6 separate regions of the Homo sapiens genome follow, and regions 1, 2, 4, 5 and 6 are each linked to region 3. The links are contacts of gene promoters, found by promoter capture Hi-C in blood cells and fetal thymus (Javierre and others, 2016). All regions are on one chromosome and are shown on one strand. Each heading gives the region's core, a stretch centred on a gene start or on the middle of the fragment in contact. The rest is flanking DNA. Distances are from core to core; before and after follow the strand shown.

Region 1 (2,700 bases), core at 108-2,607, 530 kb after region 3:
TCCTGTTTAAATTTGCTCATTCTCCCTCACGCAAACCTCTGGACTAGCACACAGGTTGATTGATGTTGCCCCCCAGGTACCTCAAGAGAGCACACTTTGTGCTTCTGCAGATGGTGTGATCCGCAATTCTTGTAGCTCGATGGCCATTTTGAAAACATTTCCATGTTGCCCTGCCATTCTGGATGTGGAAACTACAAATTATGTACCCCGTGTTGTAGCAGTAAGAAAAAAAAAATTCTTCAAGATAAAAAGAATTTATGAAGCCAATGAGAAAGGAGACTCAAGAAGTACTACCTAAAATTGCCCAAGGCGAATTAAGCATTGCAGAATATCTGTGTTTCTAACAGTACTTAAAGGAGGGTTCTATTGTTTTGTAACATAAGGTAATTTTCTCCAAGTAGTTATAAGAATTTACAAATCTGTTCAAAACAGTCCTTAAAATACTTGCATGTGTGGTATTGCAGAGTATTCTTTAGATTTCCTATGTGATTGAGGAAACTGAAGCAATAAAGTAGCTTCTAAAATATAAGTATGACCACTTCTGCCAGCACCATCACCATTTTTTTAGGATCTAGCATGTCTAAGACACAATGTTAAGATACTGTGCATGCTTTATTACTTAATTCTGTAACAACAGAAGGGGTATTATTATCCCTATTTCATGCATGAGGAAACAGAGGTTTAGATAGGTTATCTCTTACCCCAGTTTATATGGCTAATAAATGATGAAGCAAGGATTTGAATCCAAGGCTGTCAGACTTCAAAGCTCATCCTTTTTCTACTCTATTTAGTGCAAACAGTTATGGTGGTAGGTGGTACTATTATGCGTAGGAGTGAGGGAAACCAATGACAGTTTTCCAGGTTAGGAGCTTATATACTGGACAAAGGGTAAGACATACACTATTACTGTGTAGTGGTACAAATAACATGAGAGGTTCTGATATTTAGGAAATTCATGCAGAGAAGGGAGAGGGAAAGCTGGGTAGAGGAAGTGGCAGCATAAGTGGGCATTAAAGGAGAAATAAGATTTGGCAATAGCAGGTAAACGAGAAATAATAACCAAGACATAACAACCAAAGGAAATACAGGGCAGGATGCACAGGAGGCAGAGAAAAATTATTCTTTGAAAATGAAGAATGTATAAATAAGATGGGGAATAAAGAAAATAAGACAAAACTCTGATCATGAAAGTCTCTGAATGCCAAATAAAGAAATTTGAACTTTATTTTGGTAAGCAATGAGCAGCCACATTTTATATCTTGTTGGTCCTATACTGCCAAAAATAATTCATAGGTGTTTGTGAGCCTCTTATAAAAATTTTTATTTCTAATATTCCTATACCTAATTATTGATTATTTGTGAGCCTTTTATAAAGTTAAATGTGTTGAACCATTCTAGATTGTTATGTTGTTTGGACTCGTGTCTAAGAATTTTTTAAGGGTTATTTTCTATCATAGTACTAGCTTTAGTTAGTTGATAAAATGGCAGTAAAATTTCAAGTTTCCTGATGCCCACACACCTCTTATCAGTGAACAAAGCATTCCTTAGTAGTTTAGTGACTGCAAGTGCAAAGGTGAGACAGGGAGAGAGAGGGACTGACTCCCCAAGATCTTGGGATTTTTTTTCCTAATAATTTTAATAAGGAACTTTGGAAAATATCCTGGTAAAATTATTTTTCTGTATCTATGAGAATATTTTAATTGAAATATGAAAATATGTACAACTATTTGAAAGCACCATATCCAGTTGTTTCTGACTGTGTTTCACTCTTGACTTTTTTTTTCATTTTTATTTTTTACCTGCCTAGACCAACCAGACCAGATTAATGTCAGATTAATGACATCTCTGACAAATTAAGTTTTGAGATGGAGTGAAGGTAGGGGAAAAGCTCATCCAACTATGCTCCATTTGAAGTCTACTTGTGTCCAAATGGGCTTTCTGGAACCTGAGGTCGGATGGTGAGTTGAATGGGGGTCGCCCTGCTCAATTTTAGTGGTAATGCTGTGAATTGTAGGCTAGCAATCAGACTGCTGATTCTGGCATACAGCTAACAGGTCATATTGCTTGTGGCTTGTTTTATTTTTTGAGGAAACAGCACTTTGCAGTTTTACAGTGGAAAAAATATTGGATAAAATCTCAAATCTACCATTTAAGTTAGGGTGAGTACTAAATATCTTTAATACTTTGGTTTCTTCATTTGCAAAGTAGAAACTATAATATTTGTTTAATCTACTTCTCAGGACTGTTACAGAACTAAATGTAATGAAGCATGTGACATGACTTTGTAAAGTGTTGATGTTATATAAATGAGGTATTATTATTATTTGGCAGTGAATACAAGGCACTATATTTTATGTCTGTAAGGTACTTTATAGTTATGACTGCCTTCAGCTGATTAAGTATCATTTGAAGAAGCAGGGAGTAGATATCATATTTTTCATTTTATTAACATAGATTGTTTGAATAAGAAATATTTCTCTATATTAAATCCTATTTCCAAAGTACCAATAAAACTCATAATTGAGAGAAACATAGAAAATTATTTTGTGAATTATCAAAACTTAGTTTATATTTTCTATAAATTTGGATGTTCAAATGTAGCACTGCTTATCATGGGGCTTACCTATAATTCTGAATTTGATTAAAGAATAAACAGTATTTGTTGGCCTAATGATGGAAAATGCTTTGCTACTCCTATCT
Region 2 (2,700 bases), core at 154-2,653, 560 kb after region 3:
CCATATACTGCATGTTCCCACTTATAAGTGGAAGATAGACACTGAATACACATGGCCACAAAGACGAGAACAATAGATACTGGAGACTGCTGGAGGTGGGGAGTAGGATGAGGGTGTAGGTTGGAAGGCTACCTATAGGGTACTATGCTCACTACCTTGGGATGGGATCATGTGTACACCAAGCCTCAATGACACCCAATTTACCCATGTAACAAACCTGCACTTGCACCCTCTGAACCTAAAATAAAAGTAGAAAAGAAAAAAATTTCAGTAATACACAAGTACAAAGTTAAGAAGTAAACACTATGTCTAATACTAAAAGAAACTGCTTTAGATTTCTAATTTTTCTCTGGCCAGTATTTATGGTGACAAATTTACTGGGCCCAAATGACAAAACGAAGCAACAAAATTATTTATTAATTTTATATAGGCAGCATATACGTGTGTACACATACATATAGAAACACAAAGAAAGCATTTATATCTTTAGAGATTATAATGTTTTAAATTGTACAGCAAAAATATATGGAAATCACATAATAAAAAATGACTTGTATTTATGCCCTGCATTTCTCCATGGAACTTAAAATTATTTAACAGACATTATCTCATTGTTTTAAGAACTGCTATGAAACAACATGACATTTATATAACACCATTCATTTTCAATAATCTTGAAGGGTTTTATAAACTCCGGAAGAATGGCTTTGCTCATGTTCAATGTGGAATCACTGAGGGATGGACGTGGAGGTGGGTGGGTAGAGAATTGGACAGGACTCTGGTAGATGTTCCATAGAACATAGCAGTAACATACAACCATTTAAGAAAGTGAGAGATACTATTATATTAAACAGAAAAAATGAAGAAAAAAGAGCAGAGAAGATCCAAGCTAAGATTGCATTACATTTGTTAAAACTGAGAAAAACAGTAAAGACCAACTGGTCTTATTTTAATTTTTGTATCTTAGAATAATATAGATACTTTCTAGATTAAAAAGAATTTAAGCATCATCTGCTAAATTAAGAACTCCATTTTCTTTTTTTCCCTTTTTGAATATATATACAACAGTTGTATATATTTTGGTGTACAACATCATGTTTTGAAATATATATTGGATGGCTGAATCAAGCTAATTAACACATACATTACCTCACATACCTGACACAGTTTTTTTTTATTTGTGGCAAGAATACTTAAAACCTACTCTCAGCAATATTCGAGGATATAATACATTGTTATTAACCATAGTCACCATTTTGTATAATAGAGCTCTTCAACTTACTCCTCTCTAACTGAAATTTTGAATCCTTTGACCACATCTTCCCAATCTGCCTTCCTGCCTAGCCCTTGGTAACCACAATTCTACTCTCTGAAGAACTCCATTTCCTACAGTGCTTTTTGTATGGGTAGTGGTCTATACTCCAACCATCAATAACATCTTGGATCTAAATTATTATTGATTTAATATATTTTTGGGGGGTGTCTATATTTTTTGAAGACACTTCCTCTCTTTCCTTCCCTGTTTGGACTGAAACTCAGATGCTAAAAAACAAATATTCACCTGAAAAATTTTTTTTTCAAGTTTTGTTTTGTTTTGAATTTATCGGGTATATTAATCAGGATTCTCCAGATATACAACCAATGTGTGTGTGTGTGTATGTTTGTGTGTGTGTGTGTATGTATCTCTCTCTATATATAAAAGAGGTTAATGGAGCCCGAGAAGTTTCAAGGTCTGCAGTCAGCAAGCTGGAGACCAGGAGCGCCAGTGATGTAGTTCCAGTTTGAGTTCAAAGGCCTGAGACCCAGGAGAGCTGATAGTGTAAGTTCCAGTCTGAAAGCCAGCAGGCTTCAGACCCAACAAGAGTCAATATTTTGGTTGAGTCTGAGAAGGAAGAAACAAATGTCCCAGTTCAAAGAAGATAGGCAGATGGAGTTCCTCCTTATTTGCAGGAGGATCAGCCTTTTTGTTCTATTCAGGCCCTCAATTGATTGGATGAGGGCCACCCACATTAGGAAGGGTAATCTGCTCTACTCAGTCTACCAATTCAAATGCCAATTTTATCACCAAACACCTTCACAGACACACAGAGAATAATGTCTTACCAAATACCTGGGCACCCCATCGCCCAGTGAAGCTGACATATAGAATTAACCAACACATCAGACAAAAGGGCCTCTGTTCCTTCCTTGGAAAAACTAACATAATTCAATTTTCCTGAAGCAGTTGAGAGCAATGGAATAATATATAAAAAGAAGATACTGCCAGATTCCCTACTTGGACAAGGAAATATGCCAACTAATGCCAGAGGCTCTAGTGCCTCACTTTGTCTCCACTAGTCACAATATGTATGCAGAGGCCTACCGAAGATGGATGGCACCTTGGATAAGAACACGTGTAGAAGTAGTGAAAATGCAGGGGAAGAGCTGGACATCACAAAATACTGCAAAATTAATCTCCCAGCCCATCATATAGTTATTAGAGAACACAGTCAGTTTTGTAGAGGAATGAGAACACAAGCCTTATAGGTACATGGGGACTTTGACTATCTCTTTAGCCAGCTCAGGGTAAAAAGGGTGACAACATCCCTATTAATCCTTCAAAAATACCACCTGAGGTCCTGAACCCAAAGATCACCTTGCAACAAAGAGCTACTAGTCAGTACAAGTCGTCTACTACCACTGCTACTACTACTACTACTA
Region 3 (2,700 bases), core at 132-2,631:
GGGCAATAATGTTAGCAGAAGCTTGATATTTAAGAGCTGGTATTCAGAAAGATCATCCTTCCTACCCCCTTCCCTCCGGTCCAGTTCTCCTTTCTGGTTCTCACCATCGGAAATTGACTTGGCATTAACTAAGGGCTGGAATTTCAAGGCGTCAATTTTCCCCTGCCCCCAACCTCGGAAACTCTTAAACAGCTCCCTATTCTACACTCAATGGTAGAGACAGATAAATGATGCAGCAGATTACACCGTTGAAAGGCAACATTTGTCCTGAGCTATTTTCACATTTTTTCCTGTTTCCGATGTATGTGCCAGACTTTGTTTGCTTGCTTAGGACATGGAAAACACTGGGCATTTTCTCCCCAGCGGCTTTCATTCTCAGCAAATGAAAGTGAAAGTGCTACATTGTAGCGGTATTTTATCCTTAAAGTCTGGACTGGCAGCTTGTGTGTAGGGGGGAGGGAGGGTGGGATTGGGAAGGTTGAAGAACCAGTTTTGAGGTTTTGTTTGTTTATCTTGAGATCGCAGCAGGGTTCCTGTTTTTTTCCCTTCCTTTTTTTTTTTGGTGGTGGGGTCCTACTTCGGATTTATTTTCATTTGGGCAGTCATTGAAGTTTCATTCAATGGACTGACTTAAAAAAATACACTCCACTTGTGGCTTTTCCCGGTTGCACTTTAAAACACCATCCAGTCTCACCCTCATCTGGAAATAATGCAAGCTTCTCTCTTCCTTCCCCCGCTCCCTCCTCCCCTACTTTTTTTTTTTCTTCTTCTTCTTCTTTTAAAGCTCCACATAACCTGAAGTCGATAATCAAATGGAAAATGTGCTGGTATTAGTTTACTTTAGTTTACTTTCCCTTTTGGTGCTAACCTTACTTGCTGAAGTATGTATAAAACACAGGCATTTTGTACACTTGTAGCTACTGAGTCTTGTGCCTGCTGCACGAATCTAAGCTTTAAGTTTCCTCAGAGGCACTGTTTGCGTGCAAGTTTTAACATTTTGATTGTGTGGATTTTAAAAATAAAATTACACGGAGAATGACACCAGAGATCTTAACAGTGACATTAGTCCATCTAAAGTCATTCATCCTTCTCCCTCCCCCTTCATTTTTCCAAGAAACAACTAATAGCAAACCAGGCTAGAATTTCTAAGAGAGTTTAGAGGAGGAGGAGGAAAAGAGGCGGAATGAGATAGGACAGAGAGGTTAGAGAGGCCAGAATTTCTCTCATTCACAGTGTGGAAAAGTTGACATTGTCTAAGCCCTTCTGAATGGCTGGTAGTTGGTTACCCCGATTGTACCTCTACCTCCCCTCCCCCTCCACGTGACGACCCAGGACACATGCGCACCCGACGCAGCCCAGGCACATCTGCAGACTGACGTCAGTGTGCTCTGCCTCCGAGGAAAAGCTGCCAAAATTTTCTCCTGCTGCAATTCAAGTTGGCTGGGGGCCGGTAGTGAGATCTAGGGCTACTTCAACAAAACTTTGCTGCCCTTCCTGCTCCTCTTGTCTTCTTTTCTCCTGATACCTTTTGATGCTCTGCACATGTTATTTGCATAGCAAAGGCACTAAGCTTTCCAGGAAGAGAGGGCACCACTTCCACCCCCAATAAGTCTTTTTTCCCGTCTTTTCTTTCTTTTCCTTTCCTTTTTTGGGGGGTGGGGAGGGAGAGAAAGGGGGTTTGCAAAGGCAGCATCTCAGAGTGATAGCCTAGATGTATTGAAGGCATCTCTTATTCTGCCAAATCGGAAAGTCAGTTCTCTAAAGCCCGGGTTAGCCAGACCATAGGGTTTTATTCTGGCTGCAGAATAACTGGCTGGTGTGGCTTTGCAAAGGGGGGCAAAAAATAAAAAAATAAAAAAAATTAAAAAAAGTTAGAGAGGAGAGGGAGTACGTGAGTCGTCCAGTGCAATCTCTATTGTCTGAAACTTACTTTTTATCAGAATTTGAAGATGAAAACGGTAAGGAAGACTTAACAATATTCAATGGAGCTTTTTTTTTTTAAACCAACAACTTGTGCTTTGCTTGTCTTCCGAATAACGCTTAGAAAACTTTTTTTCTGTGTGTGTGTTTTTTTTTTTTTTTTTAATGGCAATGAGTGAGCTTGACTGAACTCATTTTACAAATAGATATCTTTTTAACTCCAGACTTGTCGGGGGTTGTAGAATTCTGGGACTTGCAGTTATTTTATGATGCAAAAAAAATACGTTTATTTTATGAATATACAATACATGTTTTGTGAAGTGGACTTGATTATGATTATTGTAATCTTTTAACTGATCACCAAATAGTAATCCGGAAGGTAATAATGATGTGTGTGTTTTAAATTGATTTCCAGTTTTCTTACAGAAAAGTCTTATGCATTTTGTAGTTTCATGTCAGTGTCGTTAAGTCTTCAGACAAGTGCATATTTTATGCCTGGGCTCAGAGGGTAGCATTAATGTGCTAGCTGTAGCCCCGATGCTCTAGGACATGTTAAGCTCTTAATAGGCTAATCAAAGAGATGGAAACGTGTGTTTTTGATTTACTTTTGGCCACTTGGGACGTGCTAGACTCATAACCCTCCGGAGCCTTGTTTATCGGGGTAGGTCTGTATATATGGTGTATGGGACCAAAGTTCAGGGATTGAGGAGGGAGAGTGAGAGTGCAGGAATGGGGTATTGGGAAGCCTCTTTCTGATAATATGTGCTACAATTCCTGTCT
Region 4 (2,700 bases), core at 177-2,676, 550 kb after region 3:
GAGCTACAAAGACGAGGTGGTACCATTCCTTCTGAAACTATTCCACAAAATAGAAAAAGAAGGACTCCTCCCTAACTCATTTTATCAGGCCAGCATCATCCTGATACCAAAACCTGCAGAGACACAACAGAAAAAGAAAATTTCAGGCCAATATCCCTGATGAACATTGATGTGAAAATCCTCAATAAGATACTGGCAAACCAAATCCAGCAGCACATCAAAAAGCTTATCCACCACGATCAAGTCAGCTAAATCCCTGGGATGCATGGCTGGTTCAACATAGGCGAATCAATAAACGTAATCCATCACATAAACAGAACCAATGACAAAAACCACATGATTATCTCAATAGATGCAGAAAAGGCCTTCGATAAAATTCAATAGCCCTTCATGCTAAAAACTCTCAGTAGACTAGGTATTGATGGAACGTATCTCAAAATAATAACAGCTACTTACAACAAACACACAGCTAATATCATACTGACTGGGCAAAAGCTGGAAGCATTCCCTTTGAAAACCAGCACAAGACAAGGATGCCCTCTCTCATCATTCCTATTCAACATAATATTGGAAGTTCTGGCCAGGGCAATCAGGCAAGAGAAATAAATAAAGGGTATTCAAATAGGAAGAGAGGAAGTCAAATTGTCCCTGTTTGTAGATGACATGATTGTATATTTAGAAAACCACATCATCTCAGCCCAAAATCTCCTTAAGCTGATAAGCAACTTCAGGAAAGTCTCAGGATACAAAATAAATGTGCAAAAATCACAAGTATTACTATACATCAATAATAGACAAACAGAGAGCCAAATCATGAGTGAACTCCCATTCACAATTGCTACAAAGAGAATAAAATACCTAGGAATACAACTCACAAGGGATGTGAAGGACCTCTTGAAGGAGGACTATAAGCCACTGCTCAAGGAAGTAAGAGAGGACACAAACGCAAAAACATTCCATGCTCATGGATAGGAAGAATCAGTATCATGAAAATGGCCATACTGCCCAAAGTAATTTATAGATTCAATGCTATCCCCATCAAGCTACCATTGATTTGCTTCACAGAAATAGAAAAAACTACCTTAAATTTCATATGGGACCAAAGAAGAGGCTGTATAGCCAAGACAATCCTAAGCAAAAAGAACAAAGCTGGAGCCATCATGCTACCTGACTTCAAACTATACTACAAGGCTACAGTAACCAACACAGCATGGTACTGGTACCAAAACAGACATACAGACCAATGGAATAGGACAGAGGCCTCAGAAATAATGTCACACATCTACAACCATCTGATTTTTGATAAACCTGATGAAAACAAGCAATGGGGAAAGGATTCCCTATTTAATAAATGGTGTTGGGAAAACTGGCTAGCCATAAGCAGGAAACTGAAACTGGACCCCTTCCTTACATCTTACACAAGAATTAACTCAAGATGGATTAAAGACTTAAACGTAAAACCTAGGACCATAAAACCCTAGAAGAAAACCTAGGCATTACCATTCAGGACATAGGCATGGGCAAAGACTTCATGACTAAAACATGAAAAGCAATGGCAACGAAAGCCAAAATTGACAAATCAGATCTAATTAAACTAAAGAGCTTCTGCACAGCAAAAGAAACTACCATCAGAGTGAACAGGCAACCTACAGAATGGGAGAGAATTTTTGCAATCTATCCATTTGACAATGGGCTAATATCCAGAATCTACAAGGAACTTAAATAAATCTACAAGAAAAAACCAAATGACCTCATCAAAAAGTGGGAAAAGGATATGAACAGATACTTCTCAAAAGAAGACATTTATGCAGACAACAAACATATGAAAAAAAGCTCATCATCACTGGTCATTAGAGAAATGCAAATCAAAACCACAGTGAGACACTATCTCACGCCAGTTAGAATGGTGATGATTAAAAAGTCAGGAAACAACAGATGCTGGAGAGGATGTGGAGAATTACGAATGCTTTTACACTGTTGGTGGGAGTGTAGATTAGTTCAACCATTGTGGAAGACAGTGTGGTGATTCCTGAAGGATCTAGAACCAGAAATACCATTTGACCCAGCAATCCCATTACTGGGTATATACCCAACAGATTATAAATCATTCTACTATAAAGACATATGCACACCTATGTTTACTGCAGCACTATTCACAATAGCAAAGACTTGGAACCAACCCAAACGCTCATCAATGATAGACTGGATAAAGAAAATGTGGCACATATACACCATGGAATACTATGCAGCCATAGAAAAGGATGAACTCATGTCCTTTGCAGGGACATGGATGAAGCTGGAAACCATAATTCTCAGCAAACTAACACAGGAACAGAAAACCAAACACCACATGTTCTCACTCATAAGTGGGAGTTGAACAATGAGAACACATGGACACAGGGAAGGGAACATCACACACCAGGGTCTGTTGGGAAGTGGGGTTCTAGGGGAGAAATAGCATTAGGAGAAATGCCTAATGTAGACGATGGGTTGATAGGTGCAGCAAACGATGGTGGCACATGTATACCTATGTAACAAACCTGCACGTTCTGCACATGTATCCCAGAACTTAAAGTATAATACAAACAAAACAAAACAAAACAAAAAAACTAAGGGTGAAAGCTTGATAAGGAATGATATATTTACATAATCTCAAAACATCTCTCTATAACTATACTTTCTGCATTATCTTGGATTGAA
Region 5 (2,700 bases), core at 15-2,514, 600 kb after region 3:
ACTCCCACCTCACTGATCCTTTTATTCAGCAAACAAAAATGCTCAAATTTCTCTGGACTTGGCTCAAATCAAGTGATTATTATCTTCACAAATGGACTCCATTCTTGAAAGAATAGTTTACCTATACAGTCTGCTTTATTAACCTCTAACTTCTTAATCTCTTGCAATCTATCCCTCTTACAGTCTACTGAAACTGCTTCTATATCAACCAAATTCAATGGCCTTTTCTCATTTCTCCTCTTCCTTTTTGGCCTCTATCATTCAATGATGTTAATTATTCCTTCCTTCTCCTTTCTTCTTAGAATTCTATCCCAGTCAGGCTTATATACCATTTTAGCATTTTGAATCTCCAATTCTTCTCCTGGTTACTCTTTTTCTTCCCATATTATAATTGTTGACATTTTTCTCATCTCTATACTTTGTACACTGGCATTTTAATCTAATCTCATAACATCAACTATCACTCCTATATAGGTTATTTCCAAATGTAGATGTTTTGCCTTAATGGTCCTGCATTTGTACCTATCTTCTACAAATTTCTGCGTAGATTAACTCAGAAATTTAATACTGATATGGTATGGCTGTATCCCCACCCAAATCTCATTTTGAATTGTAGTTCCCATAATCCCCATGTGTTGTGGGAGGGACCTCATGGAAAGTGATTGGATCATGGTGGCAGTTTCTCCCATGCTATTCTCATGATAGTGAGTGAGTTCTCATGAGATCTGATGGTTTTATAAGCATTTGGTATTTCCACTGCTGGCACTCATTCTCTCTCCTGTCACCCTGTGAAGAGATGTCTTCCACCATGATTGTAAGTTTCCTGAGGCCTCCCCAGTCATGCAGAACTGTGAGTCAATTAAACCTCTTTTCTTTATAAATTACCCCAGTCTTGGGTATGTCTTTATTAGCAGCATGAGAACAGACTAATACACATACAATTTTAAGTTTCCTAGTAGACAGATTTAAAAACTAAAAGGAGCCGGGTGTGGTGGCTCACGCCTGTAATCCCAGCACTTTGGGAGGCCAAGGCAGGTGGATCACGAGGTCAGGAGATCGAGACCATCCTGGCTAACATGGTGAAACTCCGTCTCTACTAAAAAAAATACAAAACATTGGCCAGGCGGGGTGGCGGGCACCTGTACTCCCAGCTATTCGGGAGGCTGAGGCAGGAAAATGGTGCAAACCCGAGAGGCGGAGCCTGCAGTGAGCCAAGATCGCACCACTGCACTCCAGCCTGGGCGACAGAGCGAGACTCCGTCTCAAAACAACAACAACAACAACAACAACTAAAAGGAAACATTAATTTTTACATACTTAATATATCCAAAATATTACCAATTTAACATAAAACCAATATAGAGAATATTAATGTGATATTCAACACTCTCTTTTGTACTAAGTCTTCAAAATACAGTGTGCATTTTACACTTATAGCAAATCTCAATTGAGACTAGCCTCATTTCAAGGACTCAACTCTAGAGAAACAGCAGGCTGGACATCTCAACATAATTACAAATTCTTTATGTCCAAACCTGAAATCGTCTCCTTCTTGCCCAAATTTGTTCCTTCTCCTGAAGTCTCTATTTGATCATGGAACCATAATCTTTTGAATGACCAGACTTTAAATTTCCCTTGGACTCTTCTCCCTTTCCTTTCATTGAATCAGTGTTGAAGTACATCATTTTCTAATCTCTCTCACATATAACAGCTCCTCTTGACTTTAACCATCAATGCCTAGTTTAGGCTGTCATTATGTGTTCTCAGGTAAGTACAATTATTTCCTATTTCTTAAAGCTATATGAACACAACTGTAGATATCCCATATTTACTTGGCATGACATAAAAATGGAACTGGGTAGCCGCTGCACAGGGAACAGCAAACACATCTTCCATTTACTCCATCAAACATTCCTATCTTTTTATTATGCTACTTTGTATAGCTTTCAATTTGGTAAGTAATTCAGTCATTTAGATGATGTTTTCCGAACACTAAGGTCTTTGAGGTAGAGATTATTTTGAGAGTTGAAGAGGAAATGGTGCATTTCTAGGGTAGACAAACTAGTTATGAGAATAATTTGAAGTACACAAAGAATGAGGCAAAGAAAGTATAGACTGTTTACGATACTATTGTAGAGGGAGTAGAACATAGCTATTATAAGACTTAACTTTGGATTCAGAAAGTATTGATTTAAAAGCCAACTCTATCACTTATTAGCCAGGTGACCTGAGAATAGTTACTTAACTTCTCTGAGACTCAGTTTATTCAACTATAAATTAGGGGTAAGTTATGTAAAATATTGAGCACACAAGACATGTTCAACAAACAGTAGCTATTATGATTTAGGTCCTCTATTTAAAATAGCACCACTGTTAAGAGCTGTCTGTCATATGGGCATAGTTCTTTATTATTTATTATAAATGAATGTTATTTCTACTATATACAGCAAACAACTCTGTTCATCATTTTAAGAGGGCAATGAATGCACAATGCTTGCTTCTAAAAATCTATCCTTAAATAGTCAAAGATTTAGACACACTATATTAATGTAGTCATATCATATACAAACTGAGCAATGATGAATAAAAACTCAAAAATGACAAGGTGAGACAGAGAAGGGTAGGTCTATACAGATTATTAAAAATTGCTTCATTATGCTAAATGTTTCAAGTGATTGAAGATTTACAATGTTGTCAAAA
Region 6 (2,700 bases), core at 87-2,586, 580 kb after region 3:
GCTTCCCAAGTAGCTGGGACTACAGGCACCTGCCACCACACCCGGCTAATTTTTTGTATTTTTAGTAGAGACGGGGTTTCACTGTGTTAGCCAGGATGGTCTCCATCTCTTTTATACCGTATTTTTACTGTACCTTTTCTATGTTTAGATATGTTTAAATACACAAATACTTACCTGTGTATTACAATCGCCTGCAATGTTCAGTACAGTAATATGCTATACAGGATTATAGCCTAGGAACAATAGCCTATACCAGGGGTATCCAATCTTTTGGCTTCCCTGGGTCACGCTGGAAGAATTGTCTTGGGCCATACATAAAATATGCTAACACTAATGATAGCTGATGAGCTAAAAAAAAAAAATCACAAAAAAGTCTCATAATGTTTTAAGAAGGTTTATGAATTTGTGTTGGGGCACATTCAGAGCTGTCCTGGGCCACATGTGGCCCACTGGCCACAGATTGGACAAGCTTGGGCCACACCATATAGCCTAGGTGTATAGTAAACTATACTATCTAGTTTTGAGTAAGCTTTGTGTAAGAACACTCACATGGTGTTTACACAACGATAAAATCACCTAGCAACACATTTCGCAGACTGTATCCCCATTGTTAAGGGATATGTGACTGTATATATAAACATTAAGTCAAAGTGAATCAAATCTTAATGTAAAATCTTAAAACTACAAAATTTCTAAAAAAAAAACACATAGAAGATCTTTTTGAGTTTGAGTCAGGCAAAGATTTCTTAGAACCAATAACTAGATTCAAAAATGAACAAAGTTAATAAGTTAGACTTTCCCAAAATTTAAGTTTTGTTTTTTGAAAGACACCATTAAGAGGACAAAAAATATAAGCCACCGTTTGAGAGAAATATTTACAAATCATATATCTGATAAAGGATTTGTATCCAAAGAATATAAAGAAGTCTAAAAATTCAATAGTAAATAACAAACAACACAATAAAAAATGGATAAAAAGAGTTGAATATATACTGCACCAAAGAATATATACGGATGACAAATAAGCACATGAAACAATGCTCAACATCATTATTAATTAAATGTAAATCAAAACCACAAAGTAACACTGCAAACTATTAGAATGGCTAAAATTAGAAAGTGACCACACGAAGTGTTAACAAGGATATGGAGTTAACAGGATAGTTTATGCACTACTTGTAGGATGTACAATGGCACAACCAGTTTGGAAAACAGTTTGGCAGTTTTCAAAAAGTTGAACATACACCTATCACATGACTTAGCCATTCCACTTCCAGACATTTGCTCAAGCAAAATAATAGCATATGGTTATAAAATACTTGTGGTATATCTATATAATGGAATACTACTTAGCAATAAAAGGAACAAACTACTGATATATACAACATGGATAAATCTGAAAATGCATATGTTGATTGAAAGAAGTCAGACAAAAAAGTACATAGAGAATATGATTTCATTTAAATAAGATTTAGAAAATACAACTATTTTATAGTGATAGAAGACTTTAGTGGTTGCCAGGGGATCAGAGAGGGGGTTAACAAGGGGCATGAGAACATGTTGGGCCTTGAAGGACATGTTCATTATCTAGATTGTGGTGATGTTTTCACAGGTATAGACATACGTCAAAACATGTCAAACAGTTCACTTTAAATTATTCTTCAATAAAGCTATTACAAATGTTTTCGTTTCTGTTCAAAAGTTTTGTTTGTGGATTCTGTCTTTTGACTGGGCCCTTTCTGGTACATACCACCAAATTACATTGTCCTGTTTCATAATATGTTCATAGCTCTTATCTGAAACTTTGCCCATTATTTAAATGTGCATCTGTGCTCTTCGTGTTGTCATAGATTCATACTCAAAAAATTGTCTTTTTCATTGTTATTCTTTTTTTCCTTAGTTTACAAATAATGTGATTATTCACTTAAGCAAAAGCCAGTTTCATTCATTACTTCAGCAAATGTTTGTTGAATGCTTATTATTTTGCCCATTACTATGCAAAGTATTAGGCATATAGAGATGAATCTATGGCTCCTGCTCTGCCAGGCACCTTTCCAACTACTGTTATACTTATTGCCCTTCATTTTGCAGTGGAATTTTATTCATCTCTCAAAACATAGCTCAGATACTTGGTCAAGCTTTTCCTGACCCAATGGACTACCGCCTATTTGGTTCTTCCTAGGATTTTGTTCATATTATATAACAGAATCTAGTAATTTTCTCCCTGAATTCAGTCATCCCTTTTACCTTTTAGTAAAGGAATCAACCCCATATATCTCCCATCCTTGATATTTAGTTAGCCAGCCACTTGGACACTCAACTGGAGACTTTATTTCTCAGCCTTTTTTACAGCTAGGTATGGCCATGTGATTTCAGTATAATATGATAAGAGTGAAAGTGCTTTTGTGCAACTTTTGGGTCATCTCCTCAAAGATGAAGTCACCAGTCTGGTACTTGCTCTTTCCTCTTCCCCGTTGCTGGAATATAGGCATGGAGGTGGGTCGGGTTGAATCATGCAGACAATGATAACACCTCAGAAGATGCCAAAAAGACAAAAATGAAAAAAACTTGGGTCCTTAAATACCTGCTGGTCCTGAAGTGCTCACCCTGAATTGTTCTGCATGAGAGAAATAATCCTCAATCTTATTTAAACATGGCATTTTTTGAGTCTTTATCCATCTGCTTGCCTCTCTCTCCCTC

What was found. Contacts are between HindIII fragments. The CHiCAGO score rates a contact against its expected background, and 5 or more counts as called.
Region 1: a fragment that was not itself captured here is called in contact with the fragment with the promoter of ADAMTS6 in region 3 in 16 of 17 cell types (M0 macrophages, naive CD4 T cells, naive CD8 T cells and 13 more); the score reaches 35.0 in M0 macrophages.
Region 2: a fragment that was not itself captured here is called in contact with the fragment with the promoter of ADAMTS6 in region 3 in 7 of 17 cell types (M0 macrophages, M1 macrophages, megakaryocytes and 4 more); the score reaches 12.3 in M0 macrophages.
Region 4: a fragment that was not itself captured here is called in contact with the fragment with the promoter of ADAMTS6 in region 3 in 2 of 17 cell types (M1 macrophages and M0 macrophages); the score reaches 8.4 in M1 macrophages.
Region 5: a contact is called between a fragment that was not itself captured here and the fragment with the promoter of ADAMTS6 in region 3, in 6 of 17 cell types (M0 macrophages, M1 macrophages, erythroblasts and 3 more). The highest score is 7.1, in M0 macrophages.
Region 6: a contact is called between a fragment that was not itself captured here and the fragment with the promoter of ADAMTS6 in region 3, in 7 of 17 cell types (M1 macrophages, M0 macrophages, total B cells and 4 more). The highest score is 11.8, in M1 macrophages.

The regions. Positions count from the first base shown.
Region 1 is chr5:64,954,818-64,957,517 of GRCh38, reverse strand. All of the region lies in intron 11 of CWC27 (CWC27 spliceosome associated cyclophilin), which reads right to left. Among named protein-coding and RNA genes, the nearest start is that of CWC27, 190 kb to the right of the region's middle. The HindIII fragment of the contact is 6,761 bases long and covers 1-2,700 here.
Region 2 is chr5:64,916,913-64,919,612 of GRCh38, reverse strand. All of the region lies in intron 11 of CWC27 (CWC27 spliceosome associated cyclophilin), which reads right to left. Among named protein-coding and RNA genes, the nearest start is that of CWC27, 150 kb to the right of the region's middle. The HindIII fragment of the contact is 4,883 bases long and covers 1-2,700 here.
Region 3 is chr5:65,480,601-65,483,300 of GRCh38, reverse strand. It overlaps ADAMTS6 (ADAM metallopeptidase with thrombospondin type 1 motif 6), which reads left to right and starts at 1,381. Exons shown (of 25, transcript NM_197941.4): 1 at 1,381-1,958. RefSeq lists enhancers at 1,179-1,228, 1,002-1,501, 1,269-1,628. The HindIII fragment of the contact is 619 bases long and covers 954-1,572 here.
Region 4 is chr5:64,933,997-64,936,696 of GRCh38, reverse strand. All of the region lies in intron 11 of CWC27 (CWC27 spliceosome associated cyclophilin), which reads right to left. Among named protein-coding and RNA genes, the nearest start is that of CWC27, 170 kb to the right of the region's middle. The HindIII fragment of the contact is 2,397 bases long and covers 228-2,624 here.
Region 5 is chr5:64,881,176-64,883,875 of GRCh38, reverse strand. All of the region lies in intron 10 of CWC27 (CWC27 spliceosome associated cyclophilin), which reads right to left. Among named protein-coding and RNA genes, the nearest start is that of CWC27, 110 kb to the right of the region's middle. The HindIII fragment of the contact is 3,274 bases long and covers 1-2,700 here.
Region 6 is chr5:64,898,661-64,901,360 of GRCh38, reverse strand. The region is part of intron 11 of CWC27 (CWC27 spliceosome associated cyclophilin); the gene reads right to left. Among named protein-coding and RNA genes, the nearest start is that of CWC27, 130 kb to the right of the region's middle. The HindIII fragment of the contact is 1,609 bases long and covers 532-2,140 here.